Linked DNA regions of Homo sapiens: all the other regions are linked to region 3. Evidence: promoter capture Hi-C in human tissues and cell types (Jung and others, 2019). All regions are on one chromosome and are shown on one strand. Each heading gives the region's core, a stretch centred on a gene start or on the middle of the fragment in contact. The rest is flanking DNA. Distances are from core to core; before and after follow the strand shown.

Evidence for each region. The method cuts DNA at HindIII sites, captures the fragments that hold promoters and counts their contacts. A contact is called where the count stands out against the background at its distance.
Region 1: a contact is called between a fragment that was not itself captured here and the fragment with the promoter of ZNF66 in region 3, in 3 of the 25 tissues and cell types used here (H1 embryonic stem cells, adrenal gland and aorta).
Region 2: a contact is called between a fragment that was not itself captured here and the fragment with the promoter of ZNF66 in region 3, in 1 of the 25 tissues and cell types used here (hippocampus).
Region 4: a contact is called between a fragment that was not itself captured here and the fragment with the promoter of ZNF66 in region 3, in 1 of the 25 tissues and cell types used here (hippocampus).

What each region holds. Positions count from the first base shown.
Region 1 is chr19:20,616,453-20,619,910 of GRCh38, forward strand. It overlaps LOC105372318 (a long non-coding RNA gene), which reads left to right. Exons shown (of 2, transcript XR_936412.4): 2 at 1-1,643. Among named protein-coding and RNA genes, the nearest start is that of ZNF626, 43 kb to the right of the region's middle. The HindIII fragment of the contact is 5,204 bases long and covers 1-3,458 here.
Region 2 is chr19:20,980,983-20,984,332 of GRCh38, forward strand. LOC112268247 (a long non-coding RNA gene) reads left to right here. Exons shown (of 2, transcript XR_002958424.1): 2 at 1,910-2,961. Among named protein-coding and RNA genes, the nearest start is that of ZNF430, 38 kb to the right of the region's middle. The HindIII fragment of the contact is 6,593 bases long and covers 1-3,350 here.
Region 3 is chr19:20,774,817-20,777,824 of GRCh38, forward strand. ZNF66 (zinc finger protein 66) reads left to right here and starts at 1,488. Exons shown (of 4, transcript NM_001355197.2): 1 at 1,488-1,634. The coding sequence starts at 1,632. The HindIII fragment of the contact is 10,177 bases long and covers 1-3,008 here.
Region 4 is chr19:21,010,307-21,013,598 of GRCh38, forward strand. No RefSeq gene overlaps it. Among named protein-coding and RNA genes, the nearest start is that of ZNF430, 8.7 kb to the right of the region's middle. The HindIII fragment of the contact is 6,310 bases long and covers 1-3,292 here.

The sequences.
Region 1 (3,458 bases), core at 176-2,675, 160 kb before region 3:
GGAGATACTGTGTTGCTTGCTGGGGAAAGGATTTTACAGACCCAGTAGAAGAACAAACCTGCTTAGGACAGCAATATTATAATGAACCATTAAGGAAAACTTTGTGGTGGGACAGAGATGACTACAAAGCACATCATCCAAATTCGTTCTCCCATTTCTCTTCTCTAAATTACACTTGGTATCAACTTGCAGCTCCAAATACTTGGCAAGCACCCCCGGTCTTTACTGGATCTGTGGGCCTCAAGCATATTGACAGTTGCCAGCTAAATGGACAGGGGGCTGTGTGCTTGGAACAATTAGACCATCTTTCTTCCTGCTCCCACTGCAACAGGGGAAAACTTTAGGGTATCCTGTCTATGATGAAGTTAGAAGAAGAAACAAAAGAGATGCAGCCATAAAAAATATATAAAAAATAGGAGATTGGGAAGACATAGGGAAGTCCCCTGAAAGAATAATTCAACACTATGGGCCAGCTACCTGGGCACAAGATGGGTCACGGGGATACTGCACTCCTATTTACATGCTTAACCACATCATAAGGTTGCAGGCAGTACTTGAAATCATCATGAATGAAAGAGCAAATGCATTAGATTTACTGGCCCAGCAAACCACAAAAATGAGAAATGCTAACTATCAGAACAGATTAGCTTTAGATTACCTCCTAGCCCAGGAAGGAGGAGTATGAGGAAAGTTCAATCTAACTAATTGTTGCCTGGAAATTGATGACAATGGAAAAGCAATTATGGAAATAACTGCAAGAATGAGAAAATTAGCCCATATTCCAGTTCAAACTTGGAAAGGGTGGTCCCCAGATTCTCTCTTTGGAGGCTGGTTTTCATTTTTCACAGGGTTCAAGATTTTAATAAGGGTGGTTCTGGCCATACTAGGAACTGCCTAATACTCCCTTGTGTCTTACATCTGCTTGTTAGAAGCATTCAATCAACTATAGAGGAAATAGTAGCTAGGCAAACTACCACACAGCTCATGACTCTGTGTAAATATCAAGCTTTGTCTAAAGAAGAAAACTTGTCTCTTCAGGCAGAACTAAGTAATAGTGATGACTTCTATTAAACTTCTTTCATAAAAGGCATCAGAAAGGGGAAACTGAGGCAAGCATTTAAAAATAATAAGTATTACAATTATTCACTCCAAGAAAAGTAAAAGCTAAGGCCCAGAATGTGGCAAGACAAGGATTAAAAAGAAAAGAACACGTTTTCCTCTGCCTAGCAGCTCACTTCAAGAACAGTTAGAAGATAACGCTGTCTGTACAGCCAAGGCCAAAGGAATGGACTCCAGGCACCCCCCTCCCTTCCAGAGCAAGGTTGAAGGAAGGAAAAAAAAAAAAAGAGAAAGACAAGTTATTTTACTGTTACTCTTTTCCCAGGCTTCTTAAGCAGGATTATGTTTTACAAATGTCTGTATTTCGCCAGTTCTTGTTTTCCTTCTAATGCAGCTACAAGGCCACTGGCTAGGTCACAAGTAATGTTATACTATAGATTACATGACCTGTCATTGTATGATTAACTGCTTTTGTTTTGCTTCTGAAAGGCCGCTTATAAAAACCCCACTCTGTGTTCAATGCTCAGCTTTTGGATGTGAATCCTCTGAGCCGGTGCACAACTAAAATAAAAAATCCTCCTGTACTCCGTATTGGTCTCTTAATTCCTCAGTTTACTGCAATAAAAGTACTGTTTTTCTACTTTTTTCTAAATTTACCTGTAATATAAAATTGTTAGCCAAGAAGACTTTATCTTATTCAAATATGTTTTATGGGATTTCATTAAGTGTCTGAATTATCTGGAGTACTTACATTTTCCATTAAGCTAAATTGAGTACTACAGATAATCTTTAACTAAAAGCTTTTCTGAGGCAGAATAAGATTTGTAACATTTTATTATCATATGAAAGAAGTGTATTAACCATGTTTTCAGTAATCACTCTGAACACAGCATTCTCAGTTCCCAGTATGCACCCTGAGTCACTCAGGGGAAACTGGTTTCTCTGTAAAGAGGCAGAAGAAAATGCTGAGTGGAGGCACCACACTGCACAGCAATGCTTTCCACATGCACCTATTAGGGTCTTCATTTAATTGGGCTGATATTTGCATAGCTACTTACTGAATTTAGTCATACTATTTTTGAGCAGCTAATGGTGTCTGTTACCTATTAATTTTATACATTTGCTTTTTTTGAAAAACAAATCTTTTGTTAATTTACTCTAAGTTGAGACTACATTTAAAATGTTCAATTTTTCAGCGTTAAAGCAAATCAGAGAAGAGCAATGTGTATATAGTGTGCATTTTCCTATCAAAATTCTTTATTGCATTGGAAACCCCAGGAAGCCAACTATAAAATACTCCCTTTGAATACTTTAGCCAGGATTTTAGACTTCAAAAGGTCAAAAACAATGAGCAAAGTCAAAATCTTGTTTTTATTTCTTGTTAGTCATCTGGCCATTTCCAAAAGCATGATAATTAAGCCAAGTCATTGAAAATATGCAGTTTTGATTAATTTTATCCCATTTGGAATGTTTTCTTTAATTGTTTTATCATGTTAATCTAAAAGAAACTGTCTACATAATTATGCTTTCAAGAATTATTCATATTGTTTACAGTTTAATCATTTACTACAGTATAGTAAAATCATTTACAATAGAATTATGAATTCATTGTTTTTAAGGTTTTTCAAATATGAAAACAGTTAGGTATGATTTGATGTAAGTTCAACTCTAGGACATTACCCACTGGTCTTCATGGTATTTCTGTAATGAATAGTATAAAACTAGGTCGCCAGAATGGTGCAGACATGCTGATTGAATTAGAATGAGTTCAGCCTTGTTGGTAGACTATTGGTATCCCAGAGGCTGATCATTCACTACAGCTTACTAAATGTAGTTCCATAATGCCAGTGAGCACTTTTACCCAGGTTACCTTTTTCCTTTCATTAATGTGGACCTGTTGTGGTCTCCTGTTTTTCTTAAGCTATCCCAGGTGAGAGGTGATTATTTCTTGCATGAATGAGATTCCCTTTTTTTCCCCTCTGCCATAGGATCCTCTTATTCTCCCTACTGGAAGCAACATGCAGAAGGCAGGAATGATGACAATAAACAAATACGTTTCCTGCCATGTGGCCACCATAAGCAGCTTACAACATGGCTCACCTAGAAGTCACTTACTTTCAGGCCAGCAGGGGTGTTTTCTATGATGTGTCTCTTTCTCTTAAAAGCACTTCTGATTAAGTTTAGCACAATCAGGATAATCTCCATTTTGGTAAACACGAAGTCAACAGATGAGTAACGTAATTTCATGAGTGATGTCCCACCACAGTCACACACTTTTTTACACTCGAGAGTATTACACAGCAGGTGCGCAACAGACTGGGAATCCAGGGTATTATCTTAAAATGTTGCCTACCCACCTGAATAAACTTTTAAAATAGTCTTTCTACTGCTTTTGTTAT
Region 2 (3,350 bases), core at 86-2,585, 210 kb after region 3:
AATGCAGGGTGTTATGCTGGACTTGCCTTTTATAAGCCCCTCAGCTGGGTACGGCTCACTCTTATGACAAGAAATTTATTTCCTGGAGACATTATGGCCTTCATAAGGAATGTTTCAGGTTGTGATTTACTGGGTACCTTAGACACACATAAGGGGAGATTTTTTCAGGGTCCTGTCATAGCATCAAAAACCAAAATAACAAAACCAGCCAGGTGAGGTGGCTCACACCTGTAACCAAAGCACTTAGGGAGGCCAAGGTGGGTGGATCACCTGAGGTCAGGAGTTCGAGACCAGCCTGGCCAACATGGCGAAACCCCATCTCTACTAAACATACAAAAATTAGCCAGGTGTGGTGGCGAGTGACTGTAATCTCAGCTACTTTGGAGGCTGAGGCAGGAGAATCGCATGAACCCAGGAGGTGGAGGTTGCAGTGAGCCGAGATCATGCCATTGCACTGAAGCCTGGGTGACAAGAGTGAAACTCTGCCTCAAAAGAAAAAAAAAAAACCAGTAGGCATGAAAATTGAAAGTCAAGAGACTCATCCCCTTTTGATTTCTAGCCCTCTTTTCACCCAGAACTATTAAAAACCTTGGCCAGATTTTAAAATGCTAAATTAAACAGACCATATATTAACAGGTATATTTAAATTGTACACATAAAGAAAATTACATAAAGGCCAGGCACGGTGGCTCACACCTGTAATCTCAGCACTTTATGAGGTTGAGGCGGGCGGATCACTTGAGGCCAGAAGTTCAAGGCCAGCCTGGCCAACGTAGTGAAACCCCGGCTTTACTAAAAATACAAAAATGAGCTGGATGTGGGTGACATGTGCCTGTAATCCCAGCTACTCGGGAGGCAGAGGTGAGAGAATCGGTTGAACCCAGGAGGCAGAGGTTGCAGTGAGCCAAGATTGCACCATTGCACTCCAGCCTGGGTGACAGAGTGAGACTCTGTCTCAAAAAAAAAAAAAAAAAAAGAAAAAAAAAGAAAAAAGAAAATTACATATACCATTAAAATTGTATACCTATATGTCACAATTTTTCAAATGCTTGGAAATGACATATCAAATTATAGTTGATTGCATTTGATAAATATACAATAAAATAAAATGCAGAACAACCAAACTCCAAATAGAATATGCCTTTGTCTCTTGAATGTTGAAGAGATACTTAAATCAAATGTGATCACATTGAATTGATCAGATAGGAGCCAGTGCTAACTCAATCAACCACTGATTCCTAAGGCAGCAAAGAGCCCAGCTGGAGAAGCAAGCTTCTCCTCTACCTCACCCTCCCTCAGTCATCCTGGGTGCTACATTGTCTTCTGTAGAATTTGCTCAGCATTCACTATCTGAGCTGACAAATTTGGCTAGATTATTATCACAACCCTAACACATTTTGGTTCTTTGTTCTTGTTTCTTTGTTTAAAATAGGTTGTGGATATAACTATTACATCATGAAACTTTTTTTTTTTTTTGAGATGGTGTCTAGCTCTGTTAGCCAGACTGGAGTGCAGTGGCGTGGTCTGAACTCACTGGAACCTCCACCTCCCAGGTTCAAGCGATTCTCTTGCCTCAGCCTCCTGAGTAGCTGGGATTACAGGCGCCTGCCACCACACCCAGCTAATTTTTTGTATTTTTAGTATAGATGGGGTTTCGCCATGTTGGCCAGGCTGGTCTCAAACTTCTGACCTCATGATCCGCCCGCCTTGGCCTCCCAAAGCACTGGGATTACAGGCATGAGCCACCACACGTAGCCTACATCATGAATCTTTAGAAACCCAGTATGGTACTTGTCTGGGTCTAGTCCTAAAAATAATAAACAGATCCAAAAAACTGTTGCAACATTAACCTTTGAAAGCTGCCTGTGATGATACTGACTCACTGACCTCCTTTCTCCTCAATCCACAGAGAAAGTGCAAGAACCACCAGGTCTTAGGGCACATGGCCAGGACCAGGAGGTACCCAGTGAAGTGCTCTAATGTGGTCCTGTCCCACAGCCCCTGAACCAAATAAGGACAAGCAGAACCTGAAACCAAGGAAGGCTTGGGAACTGCAGACTCCAGGACTCTTTACTAAGACTAACAGGAGGAATGAAGGCAAAGATCAGATACCTGCAGGGTTGAAACCGTACCCAGACTTTGGAATTTTAGTGTCTCCTTCTTTACTCTGTGTCCACAGCCCTCTTTAAGAGTGGAGAGAGAAACATAATAGAAATACATGAAGAGTCTGGGTGCGGTGGCTCACGCCTGTAATCCCAGCACTTTGGGAGGCCGAGGGGGGCAGATCATGATGTCAGGAAATCGAGACCATCCTGACTAACACGGTGAAACCCCATCTCTACTGAAAAATACAAAAAAAAAAATTAGCCAGGCGTGCCTATAGTTCCAGCTGCTCAGGAGGCTGAGGCAGGAGAATCGCTTGAACCTGGGAGGTGGAGGTTGCAGTGAGCTGAGATCGTGCCACTACACTCCAACCTGGTGACAGAGCGAGACTCTGTTTCAAAAAAAAAAAATACATGAAGAGCCCAGCATACTCCTGAGTTCCTCTCTCAGGAGCTCATTCTATTCCTGGAGGATCATTGTGAGCAGGTGTATGAGGATACCTTGAAACTGCATGTGGCAGGCACAATTGCAGTAGATTACAAATGAAAGCCCATCTTGATTGGACATGAAGAAACCATGCAAGGATGCTTGGAGTTGGGGGCTGGATTTGACATGAAGGCAGAAGATACCTTCACAAAGTTCAGAAGACCTTCATTGCTTTCCTCACAGCAAAATATGAGCGAGGACAGTGCCCCTGCTGTTCCTTCCCTGGGTGGTGACAGAAAGTTGAGACACATACAAACACTTAACATAGTTTACTCAGCAAGCAAGAAAATCTTGGAAGGAAGATTCTACTGCAGAATTTGTGCAGCAGATATGAACTGAAGCATCAGCAAAACTGAAAAGTAATGAGAGAATCTGGTGGCTCTGAGGTGTTTTTTTCCCTTTGTTTCCTGCTTAGTTGCTCTTTGAGGATCCCCTGACTTGTTTTACTCCTGTGCCCTTTATGAATGAGTGATGATCATCTTAAAAATCAGGATGTTCGGCCAGGTGCGATGGCTCACGCCTGTAATCCCAGCACTTTGGGAGGCCGAGGCGGGTGGATCACCTGAGGTCAGGAGTTCGAGCCCAGCCTCACCAACATGGTGAAACTCCATCTGTACTGAAAATACAAAAATTAGCCTGGCTTGGTGGTGTGTGCCTGTAGTGCCCACTACTCAGGAGCCTGAGGCAGGATAATTGCTTGAACCCAGGAGGCAGAGGTTGCAGTGAGCCAGGATTGCACCACTGCACTCCAGCCTGGGTAA
Region 3 (3,008 bases), core at 238-2,737:
TGTTCTGTATGGGAAACGTGGGAGAGGAGAAGAAAAGACATACATACAATAACTTTAATGGTAAACAAGCTTTAACCCACATCAATATCAATGCAGACAGAATAAACTAATGATATAATAAGCAAATGATATAATAAGCAAATAAATATAATACACAGATTGATATAATAAGCAAATTGCAGTAAGAAGAGGAGATGGGAAAAGATATATATATATATTTACCCTCACTAGACTATGGAGGATTACCAACTGAGTAGGAAGAAACAGCCCAGGCTCCAGAGTCGGCCACCCATTCATGCACAGACAAGGAGTCTCATGAAGCTTCAGGGTGGTCTGGGACCCTAGCTCTTTTGTAACGAGTTGTTTGGCATAAGGCCCAGTGAGGAGGGCCATTTGGGACTTGCCTCACGGAACACAAAAGGGTCAAGTTGTTTTTGTGATTGTCTATTGTTTTTCAACAACTAATGTATAGTAATAGAATGAAATAGACATTTCTTTGATACAGCTCTGGATGAACACCTCAGGGGCTCACAACCAGGACCTGTTCTGGGACTTGGTGACCATTGTGTCCACGTTCAATTGAGTTCAAATTTAACATTTAACTTTTCCTCCATAAATTCTCCTGTCTTCATGAATTGGCTCTGTCTAGGCAAAGGGCAAAATGAACCCCTTGGGCTGTTACATAACCTCCACCTCCTGGGTTCAAGTGATTCTCCTGCCTCAGCCTCCGGAGTAGCTGGGACCACAGATGTGCACCACCATACCCAGCTAATTTTTTACATTGTGAGTAGAGATGGGGTTTCACCATGTTGGCCAGGCTAGTCTTGAACTCCTGACCTCAAGTGATCCACCCACCTTGGCCTCCCAAAGTGTTGGGATTACTGGCATGAGCTACCTGTGCCTGACCCTAAATTATTTCTATCTCTTATAGCAGTTTGAAATTACTTAAAGGTTGTTTCAAGTTGAAAAAATAAGAAGAATGTGGATAAAAATAAAATATAAATAGATAAAAAAATTACAGGGATTACAAAATATATATGTAAATCTGGAGTGGTCAAAAATGACAAATTTGATTTATTTATAAGGTTTTATTAAAATTAGCTTTAATCGTTAATACACTATTACCAAAGTAAAAGCTGATTTTCTCTTGAACAAAAATTTTATGTATTATTAATATGACAGCAAAATACTTCTGTTCACCTTTGAATACATTCAACAAGACAGAGAGTAAAAAAGAGATAAAATGTTCCCATGCTCTGGCATGGACCAGGCTCAGCTCTGGGAGGAAGCCCTGCCTGAAAAGGCTGCAGCTTAGGCTGTCACTCTTTTCTTCACTCCGCCCAGCAGCTGATCACATCTTCTGTCACTCAGTGTCTGAGGGGGCGGGACCTTAAGCATTAGCCAATCAGAGGCGCTGGGCTGGAAACCGTCCAATCAGGCACGCAGCTGGAATGAACAGGACGGCTTCCGGATTTGGCGGGGTCTTTGTCTCTCCCTGCAGCTGGAGCTCCAGGTCGTCTGTTCACTGCTCTCTGTCTTCTTCTCCTAGAGGCCCAGCCTCTGTGGCCCTGTGTCCTGCAGGTATTGGGAGATCCACAGCTAAGACGCCAGGACCCCCTGGAAGCCTAGAAATGGTGAGAGTGCCGGTCCAGCATCCCGAGAGAGGTGAAGTGTCTGTGGCGGGACTCAGGCCTCCCCTCAGTCAGCTCCACAATCTGCACCCCGAATTCTCCTTACCCAGCTCTGCCTCAGTCCCATTCAGCCATAAGATGGCGGCTACGCTGACAGCCTGGCCCCCGGGCGTCCTGTCGCTTCCCCGCGCAGTGACTGTGCCCCTGGCCTGGAGCGCTCTGTGGGCAGCTCTGCACCCGCAGTGCCGTGTCTCTCCCAGATTGTGCAGGGACCACCGGAGGGTCTTCAGGGGAGAATGCTGACTCGCGGTGCGGGTTCATGAATGGGAAGAGCTTTGGTCTGTGGGGTTCACAGTTTCTCTTTTCTGCTATTAAAATTGTATGGGGCCGGGCGCGGTCGTTCAAGCCTGTAATCCCCGCACGTTGGGAGGCCGAGGCGGGCGGATCACTTGAGGTCAGGAGTTGAAGACCAGACTGACCAAAATGGGGAAACCCCTTGTCTACTAAAAATACAAAAATTAGGTGGATATGTTGGCGAATGTCTGTAGTCCCAGCTTCTCGGGAGGCAGAAGTGAGAGAATCGCTTGAACCCGGGAGGCGGAGGTTGCAGTGAGCTGAAATCCTGCCACTGCACTCCAGCCTGGGCGACAGAGCAAGACTCTTGTCTAAAAAAAAAAAAAAAAAAAAAAAATTATGGGAGTCACTGCAAAAATATCAAACAATTTAATCAAAGAGTGATTCAAGAATTGTAGAGCACCCAGCTATAGTTTGTAGTTTGTGGTCCATGGGAGAGGCTTGAAGAAAAGACATTTATAAAATGCATGATGAGGAAAACCAAATTCAATAATTTGTTAGGTTTAGTAATGTAGTTTCTTAATTTGTACAATCAAGGTGGAAATTTCCTGGTTATGTAATTAGAGCTTAATTGGCAGTTTATAGTTGCTGAAGCCTGAATTTTGTTTCCCCTAATGTAGTAATTTGCCAAAAAATGCACTTGAGCTTAGATTTTTTTTTTTTTTTTTTTTTAGAAATAGAAATCCGGGGACTAGAGCCTCTTCAGTCTAATTGCCTGCCACTTAATTATTTTCACATCCCACAGGGGACTGACTTTCCCTGGCATTTTTCACATGTGTCCCAAGCAGGGCCTCAAGTGTCCCCCATGTTCCTCAATTAATTATTATTATTATTATTATTTTTTGAGACGGAGTCTTGCTCTGTCGCCAGGCTAGAGTGCAGTGTCAGATCTTGGCTCACTGCAACCTCCACCTCATGGGTTCAAGCGATTCTCCTGCTTCAGCCTCTCCAGTAGTTGGGACTACAGGCAAGCGCCACCACTCCCAGCTAGTTTTCATATTTTTAGTAGAGATGAGGTTTCAC
Region 4 (3,292 bases), core at 140-2,639, 240 kb after region 3:
CATTGTATGGAAAAGCATCATGAAAATCCCTATCCTGTTCTGTTCTGTTCTGACTAGTGGTACATGCAGCCCCCAGTCACATACCCTCTGCTTGCTCAATCAATCATGACCTTTTCAGGCGGACCCCGTTATAGTTGTAAGCCCTTGAAAGGGACAGGAATTGCTCACTCAGGGAGCTCAGTTTTTGGAGATGTGAGTCTTCCAATGCTGCCAGCTGAATAAAGCCCTTTCCTTCTGCAACTCGGTGTCTGAGGGGTTCTTGTCTGTGTCTCATCCTGCTACAACAGAGGTGGGCAGATCACGAGGTCAGGAGTTCCAGACCAGCCTGACCAACATGGTGAAACCCCGTCTCTAGTAAAAATACAAAAATTAGCCAGGCGTGGTGGTGCAAGCCTTTAATCCCAGCTACTCAGGGGGCTGAGGCAGGAGAATCACTTGAACCCGGGAGGCAGAGGTTGTAGTGAGCCAAGATTGCGCCATTGCACTCTAGCCTGGTCGACAGAGCAAGACTCCATCTCAAAAAAATTAAAAATAGGCTGGGTTGGTGGCTCATGCCTGTAATCCCAGCACTCTGGGAGGCTGAGGTGGATGGATCACCTGAGGTCGGGAGTTCGAGACTAGCCTGACCAACGTGAAGAAACCCTATCTCTACTAAAAATACAAAATTAGCCAGGTGTGGTGGAGCATGCCTGTAATCCCAGCTACTCAGGAGGCTGAGGCAGGAGAATCGCTTGAACCCGGGAGGCAGAGGTTGTGGTGAGCCAAGATTGTGCCATTGCACTCCAGCCTGGGCAACAAGAGTGAAACTCTATCTCAAAAAATAATAATAAATAAAAATAATAAAAAATAATAATGAATAAGTAAATAAAATAAAAATAAGGGATAAATATGCAAGGAAATAGCATAAAGAAAAAACAATCAGAACCTCAGGAAATATTGGACACACTTATAAAAATGCAAAATGCTCTGGAAAGTCTCAGCAATAGAATTGAACAAGTAGAAGAAAGAAATTCAGAGATCAAAGACAAGATCTTCAAATTAACACAATCCAGCAAAGACAAAAAAAAATGAACAAAACCTTAAAGAAGCCTGAATAATTGGTTTTTCTGAAAAAGAAGAAAAATCTAAAAGTTTGGAAAACATATTTGGGGAAATAATTGAAGAAAACTTACCTGGTTTTGCCAGAGGCCTAGACATTCAAATACAAAAAGCACAAAGAATACCTGAGAAATTCATCACAAAAAGATCATCACCTAATCACATTGTCATCAGGTTATCTAACGTTAAGATGAAGGAAAGAATCATATCATATATACATATATATATATACACATCATATATATATATCATCATATACACACACACACACACACACACACACACACACAATGGAATACTACTCAGCCATAAAAAGGAATGAATTAACATTTGCAGTGACCTGGATAACATTGGAGACTATTATTCTAAGTGAAGTCACTCAGGAATGGAAAATCAAACATTGAATGTCCTCACTGAGATGTGGGAGCTAAGCTATGAGGACACAAAGGCATAAGAATGATGCAATGGACTTTGGGGATGTTGGGGAAAGAGTAGGAGGGGGATGAGGGATAGAGACTACCAATATGGTGCAGTGTATACTGCTCTACTGCTCAGGTGATGGGTGCAACAAAATCTCACAAATCACCACTAAAGAACATACTAATGTAACCAAATACCACCTGTAGCCCAGTAACTTATGGGGAAAAAAAAGAGACTTAAAAAAATATATATATATACAAAAATTAGCCAGGCATAGTGGTGCATGCCTGTAGTCCCAGCTACTTGGGAGGCTGAGGGGAGAATCACTTTAACCTGGGAGGCGGAGGTTGCATTGAGCCAAAATTGTGCCATTGCACTCCAGCCTGAGCCACAGAGTGAGACTCTGTCTCAAAAAATATATATAAAAAATAAAACTAGTAATCCAGGCAAAACAAAAATGAATTATACATTATGAAAATACTCTGCCACATTTTTATACTAAATCAGCCAGTACTGAAATTTTTTAGATGTGCCATTTGAGTAAACTGTGTGTTCCAAGTCAGATTACCTATGATAACCTCTCAGTTATCAGTGCTATGAACCTAAATTGAAGAAACAAACTTGATATTTAAGAGGACATAAATTTAATGTTAAGTGTGAACTCATAGAGAACCTAGACAGCAGTGACTTTTTTCATTCCTGAGTTCTTAAAGCTTCCTTTATCAAAAGCACTGCATTTTATCACTCGCCACAGAAGAGATAAAAAATAGTCTAAGTTGGCGGGGCACAGTGGCTCATGCCTGTAATCCCAGCACTTTCAGAGGCCGAGGTGGGCAGATCACCTGAGGTCAGGAGTTCAAGACCAGCCTGACCAACACGGAGAAACTCTGTCTCTACTAAAAATACAAAATTAGCTGGGTGTGGTGGTGCACTCCTGTAATCCCAGCTACTTGGGCGGCTGAGGCAGGAGAATCACTTGAACCTGGGAGGCAGAGGTTGCAGCGAGCTGAGATGGTGCCATTGCAGTCCAGCCTGGGCAATAAGAGTGAAACTCCATCTCAAAAAAATACATAATAATAATCTAAGTTAAATATAAATTAAATGTGTGTGTGTGTGTGTGTGTGTGTGTGTGTGTGTGTGTGTGGTGACTGTCCTAACTACCAAAATAGGTTAGGACCGTTTTTTTCCTCTCAAACATATAATCCTGAGAAGACAATCCAAACTTCATGTACACTTTGGGAGACCAAGGCGGGTGGATCACAAGGTCAGGAGATTGAGACCATCCTGGCGAACACGGTGAAACCCCGTCTCTTCTAAAAATACAAAAAAAAAAAAAAAAAATTAGCCGGGCATGGTGGCAGGCACCTGTAGTCCCAGTTACTCGGGAGGCTGAGGCAGGAGAATGGCATGAACTCGGGGGATGGAGCTTGCAGTGAGCCGAGATCGCGCCACTGCACTCCAGCCTGGGTGACAGAGCGAGACTCCATCTCAAAAAAAAAAAAAAAAAAAGCTTCATGTACATTTCTGCTACCTGAGGATCTATTTAAACATTTGTAAAGAAATCTTATTCAATTGTCATGTTTAATGCATATTTTCTTGTAGAATAAAAATTTTCTCATGGGAAAAGTCTGATGTTATAACAGTAGCTTAAAGGATAATAAAAAATATGTTTTGCTCAGGAGACATTTCTGAAAAAGGCTCCAATAATATACTTATTTCGGCCGGGAGCAGTGGCTCATGCCTGTAATACCAGCACTTTGGGAGGCCAAGAAGG